2 separate regions of the Homo sapiens genome follow, and region 2 is linked to region 1. Evidence: promoter capture Hi-C in human tissues and cell types (Jung and others, 2019). All regions are on one chromosome and are shown on one strand. The core of a region is centred on a gene start or on the middle of the fragment in contact, and the rest is flanking DNA. Distances in the headings are between cores, read along the strand shown.

What was found. The method cuts DNA at HindIII sites, captures the fragments that hold promoters and counts their contacts. A contact is called where the count stands out against the background at its distance.
Region 2: a fragment that was not itself captured here is called in contact with the fragment with the promoter of DDX4 in region 1 in 1 of the 25 tissues and cell types used here (spleen).

What each region holds. Positions count from the first base shown.
Region 1 is chr5:55,736,499-55,739,350 of GRCh38, reverse strand. It overlaps DDX4 (DEAD-box helicase 4), which reads right to left and starts at 1,290. Exons shown (of 22, transcript NM_024415.3): 1 at 1,250-1,290; 2 at 319-401. The coding sequence starts at 387. The HindIII fragment of the contact is 12,969 bases long and covers 1-2,852 here.
Region 2 is chr5:55,357,999-55,361,098 of GRCh38, reverse strand. It overlaps MTREX (Mtr4 exosome RNA helicase), which reads right to left. Exons shown (of 27, transcript NM_015360.5): 15 at 2,401-2,526. Among named protein-coding and RNA genes, the nearest start is that of MTREX, 52 kb to the right of the region's middle. The HindIII fragment of the contact is 3,997 bases long and covers 1-3,100 here.

The DNA.
Region 1 (2,852 bases), core at 41-2,540:
TTCCATACAAGCGTCTTTCACTGATATCAACCACATTTGCCCAAGTTTGCTTTCACCTGAGGAAGTCCTAAATCATTGAGATTTAAATTAGGTCATTAATATTTTTACATCTATTTTAGCTTTTAATTATCAAATTGCCTCAAGCTATTGTATCCTATACGAGGCTTAGGTTGTCTCTTATTCCCCATATAATAGTTAATAACAATCACATGGAGATAAACACTGACACAGACTGTATAATTTAGAACTCTCACCACAGTGATTTTCAACTTTGATAAAATCCGTAGCATTTAATAACTAAACTTTAAATGTTATTACCTTCTCAAATATGGGAACATAGGAAGACATATGAGGGTTGATTTCTGCTTCCCAATCTTCATCTCCCATGGTGGCTTCAAGTTCTATTCATAAAAAAAAAAAAATGCACATTTGGACTCAATTAGATCAGAATCATAACTTTAAAAGCATAAACTCATTGTTTCACATACATCTTGAAACTACCCAACTAGGTGCTGATACCCCAAAAGTTTTTTCCAAAGAAGGAATTAGGTCTCTTCTTATCTAAAGGTGGCATTTATCTCCATCCTTTCTTAGCTTTAGAAACTAGTTGAACCTCTTACCTAGTCATTCTAGCAATCGCCATGTCCCCAGCAAGACTTAGGCTTTTCCCAAACATCTGTTCATAGACTTTATCTCCTCCCTCAAAGGGTCCCCAAACGACTTACTGAATATTAAGGGAGAGGCAACTTTTTTCAGAAACTACTTAAGATTTCTCCCTTCGCATGATTAACATCCAAGGTGGATAGGATGTTTGCTTTGGGGTGTTTGTGGCGTGCGTGGGGGCGGGGACAGGGGTACGGGAGTCGACTGGGTAGGGGGGCGGCGACTCGGTGAAGAGGGAGGCCTTGGATTTTAGTGGGGAAGGGAAGAAGGGTATGGTTGCCCAAATCCTGCCGACAAAGGACAACCAGCTTCATCAAGAAGGATTTGTACACAAATGGTACTCGGACCATGTCTGTTCAGAGAAAACGCAGTGAAGAAGCCAGGAATAAGGCCCCTTCGCCTCCTCTGCAGGCCTCAAGCCCAGACTTTGGGCACCCGTGGGACTCTGAGACCCCGAGGCAGAAAGGCTTCGAAGGACGGCTTCAAAACTCCTCCTACTCCATCCACACTTTGGCCAAAGGTCGGTTACTGGGGAGCCCGTACGGCCGAGTTCAGGCCAGTTCCCGTAGAAAAGCGGCCCACTCACCTCTCCGCGGCTTGCTCTCCCAAGCCCTCGCAGGCGCCCACGCGACTTAAACGGCTGCACGTGCAAGACGCCCACTGCGTCAGGTGCGTGGCTCCAACAACAAATGGCGTCTGTTGACGATTGGCTGGTGACTAGCGCCACCAGCCAATCAGCGCTCAGACGACCAGTGGCGTCCCGCCTCCACTTCTAGCCTGCGGATTCCCTAAACGCTAGCGTTCGGGCCCCTATGGCGACGCTCTGGCCTCATAGCCAAGTGGCCTGTTGGGCCTGTGGGTACAAGGCTGGCTGAGGGCCTACTTGTGTCCACGTTCTCTCGTGGGATCCTTATTCTGGAGACGCTCTGGATTTTCCTTGTGCAAGCTTCGCAAGCTAAATATGTCCACCTGCCTTTTTCTAACAAAAAATAATAATAAAAGGGGAAAGGGATAATGTCCTCCCTACTTGGCCTCTTTAGTGCTCTCTCCCCTTTTACCCATCACAGTCCATGGGTTGGCCCCTCGGGTTCTGCATTTCAGAGACTCGCTCCACATCCGGGGATTCCAGGTGCCTCAAAGTGCAGCTGAGGCTCATGGAGGAGGTGCATTCCCTTTTCCTCCCAGTAAGGGGGGCAGGGATGAGACTCCGTCCAGCTGGGACCCCAGGAAATCGTAAAGAAAGTTAGACTCGGCTGGGCATGGTGACTCACGCCTGTAATCCCAGCACTTTGGGAGGCCGAGGCGGGCGGATCACATGAGGCTAGGAGTTCGAGACCAGCCTAGCCAACATGGTGAAACCCCGTCTCTACTAAAATTAAAAAAATTAGCCGGGTATGGTGGCGGCTGCCTGTAGTCCCAGCTACTCAGGAGGCTGAGGCAAGAGAACCGCTTGAACCCGGGAGGCAGAGGTTGCAATGAACCGAGATCATGCCATTGATCTCTACCTGGGCGACAGAGTGAGACAGAGGAAAAAAAAAAAAAAAAAAAAGCCTGTAAGATTTCGGGGGTCCACCACTTTGGAAGGAAACAGGCTCTGATCCAGAAGGAGGGAGGAAATTGGTGCTGGCATAGGTCATTCATCAAGGCTTGGATTTGTGGCCCACCTGTTTATATTCCTACGGGCACTAGCCAAAGTGGCCAAGGGTTATTTTGATACTTCATGCTGTCTTCAATCAGATTTTCTTGTTCTGCCCCCACCCCCCACCCCAAAAGCAGGTAAAATCCCTCAGTATTTCCCCAGCCCTTCAAAACGCGTGACCATGGGCTGTTTTAAAAGTGTAGTTCTCAGAGGCCGGGCGCGGTGGCTTACGTCTGTCTGTAATCCCAGCACTTGGGGAGGCCGAAGCGGGCGGATCACGAGGTCAGGAGATGCAACCATCCTGGCTAACACGGCGAAACCCCGTCTCTACTAAAAATACAAAAAATTAGCCGGGCGTGGTGGCGGGCGCCTGTAGTCCCAGCTACTCCAGAGGTTGAGGCAGGAGAATGGCGTGAACCCGGGAGACGGAGCTTGCAGTGAGCCGAGATCGCGCGACTGCACTCCAGCCTGGGCCTCAGACCGAGACTCCGCCTCAAAAAAAAAAAAAAAAAAAAAAAGTGTAGTTCTCATTTTTGTTGTCGTTTCTGTC
Region 2 (3,100 bases), core at 370-2,869, 380 kb after region 1:
TCATGTCAAATAGTGTTTAAACTAATAGTTGAAAAATCTATTTGCAAGAGGTACTGAGAAGCAGTACCATATAGTAGTTAGAAGCATAAACTCTGAAATCAGACTGCCTGAGTTCAAAAGCAGGATTTGCCATTTAACAACAACATAGCTCTGGACAAATTTTTTAACCTCTGCATGCCATTTATAAAATGGAGATAATAACATAATTATTGTAATTAACATTTGGAACATATTGAATATTCAATAAGTATTAGTTGTTACAAATACTGAATAAGTTACTTATAAATTCCTTAATGATAGTAAAACCACCTGGAAAAAAACCTAGAGGAAAAAGGTTGTATGCCAGTCTTGATAAAAGAAATATGCCTAGAAATGCAGACACAAAAACAGGTACTCCTTTCAATCAGTCAAACTGTATAATATTCAAAGTGAAATGTTCTCCTTCATACCCCAAGGATGGCTATTAACCAAAAGGGCAGCTAACAAGTGCTGGCTAGAATGTAAAGAAATTAGAAGCCTCATATAATGCTTGTGGGAATGTAAAACGGTGCAACTACTAAAGAAAACAGTCTGGCAGTTCCTCAAAAGGTTACACATAGATTTACTCTATGACCCTGCAATTCCATTCCTAGGTACACAGTCAGGAGAAAAGAAAACACATATTCAAGTAAAGACTTGTAAAAAAAAAAAAAAGTTCATAGCAGCATTACTCACAACAGCCAAAACATGGAAACAATCCAAATGTCCATCCACTGATGAACAGATCAAGTTTGGCATACCCATACAATGAAATATTATTCAGCAATGAAAAGGAATGAAGTACTCATAGATGTTACAACATGCATAAAACTTGAAAACATTAGGCTAAGTGAAAAAAAGCCAGATACAAAAGGGTACACATTATACGAGTCTGTTTATATGAAATGTCCACAACAGACAAATCCATAGAGACAGAAAGCAAATTAGTTGTTGTCTAGGGCTTGAGGTAGGGGTGGTCTTGTGAAGAAAGAAGAGTGACTGTTAATAGGTACAGGGGTTTCTTTTTGGATTGATGAAAATATTCTAAAATTGATTGTGGTGATGGTGACAAAACTCTATGAATATATTAAAAACCATGGAAATGAGTGACTTGTATGGTATGTGAATTATAGCTCAATAAGTCTATTAGAAAAGTTAATTTTAAAAATGCAATGAAAGGTGATAGAACTTTACACTTACAAAGTAACAAATCCAGAAACGTCAAGTAAATGGAATGAAAACTCTGCACTAAAGGAACCAGATGCTGTCATTAAAATATTACCTCCTATAATCTGGCAATCCGATTCTGTTCTTTCCACACACACAGTACAAGGAAAGAAAAATAGCATGTGCTATATCTGGCACAATTAGAGAAAAGAATAAAAATACAAATTTTCAGCCTTGTTTAATTTTCCTTTCATGAAGCACTAAAGAGGTTTCCAAGTGTTAATCTCTAAAGTTGAAAATAAGACACAATACGATTATTATGAATATGTACAGACAAGCTTTGTCTTCACTCATGTAAAGACATATAAAGATATACACACCTTCATCAATTTTGCTTCAACATACCAAGCTTCATTATGACTATATCTCAAATTCTCCACAAAGTTCCCAAGTCTAAAAAGTTAGACACACAATCTGTTTCATAGATACTGACCTAAGTGTGTCTTAACATGTTTTGAAGTAGCTACTTTTAAGTAGCTAATAAGCTGGCAATTAATTTTGTGTTTTTAATTAAAGTTTCCTATCTTATTAACACTTTTCTCTATATGGATAAGAAGAAAAAAGGCAACCAGGCCAATCTTCCTTGAGAAGCTCTTCAAAACAAAATCCTAGACCATCCGAAGCACAAATACTAAGCAAGCAAAATAAAAGTCTAATCTGCAATAAAGCTTAAAATGTGTCCTTTTTGATTGGGATATTTATAATCAATAGGGTAAAGTGTAAACGCAGATTGCTGAATTAACCTATTAAGCTATCTGCGCTTGCAAAGGTAGAGGAAGCTCATTGCCTGCCCAAAACACTTGATTATCAGTAGAACAGAACTTCCTGTTCTACCAGGTAAAGAACAACTTGTGCAGTGGATGGGTCAAATAAAGAGATTTCTTAAATTTGGAGGACAAAGTAAACATTTCTGCCCTCTCTGGAGATCTTCACACCCTATCCATTACATGAGTTGCTCTCCACCTATTAGGTGAAGTAGGATACAAGATGTTAGTATTTTGAGTAATCACACCCTTCCATCTTCCCAAGCCCAGATAGTTTCAGTATATTAACTCATTTCACTTAGGTGTCTGACTGACACAACCAATTCTGAAATGGCTCCTGAAGTATATTTCTGGAATTCTTGGTAAAGGTACACAATCTTAATGTAGTTACCTTAAGTAATTGTTTTCCAATTGTTGGGCTCATCTTTTCATCTACCATAAGAATTACAATTCCTCTATCATCCATTCCTCTCCTTCCAGCACGACCAGACATCTGAATGTATTCACCAGAAGAAATCTGAATGAACATAGTTAAAATTCAGAGTTTAGGAAAAAAACTGGTAAAAAACATATTCTTAAAATTTCTCTTTTTATAAAATTTATAACAAGTTATAAACCCTAAGAAAGGAAACATGATTAAAAACAACATGAAGTTTGAGAAGAGTTAAAGTCAAAGCACAAAAATGCAAAACATGTGAGAATAATGTTTCAAACCGACATCACACTGACATAACAAAACTAAATTTTAGACTTATTATCATTTTGGATCGAAAATTTATGCTTTTAATCTAAATTTAAAGCCTAAAATTTAGGCTTTTAAAAATTTTGGCTTTCCACATAAGCCAATTACTGTTAATTATGCTTACAAATATATGACAGCTTCTGGGAAATATTGGCTAATTCACTGGCAGTAAAAAATACCTTTGAGCTGGATATTCTGGAAAACAGCAAAATCTTGATCTCCCGACCTTGTGATCTGCCCGCCTCAGCCTCCCAAAGTGCTGGGATTACAGGCATGAGCCACCACGCCCAGCGAAAACAGCAAAATCTAAGAATGCAATGACTCAAACTCAACCAAGTATCAATTCTGA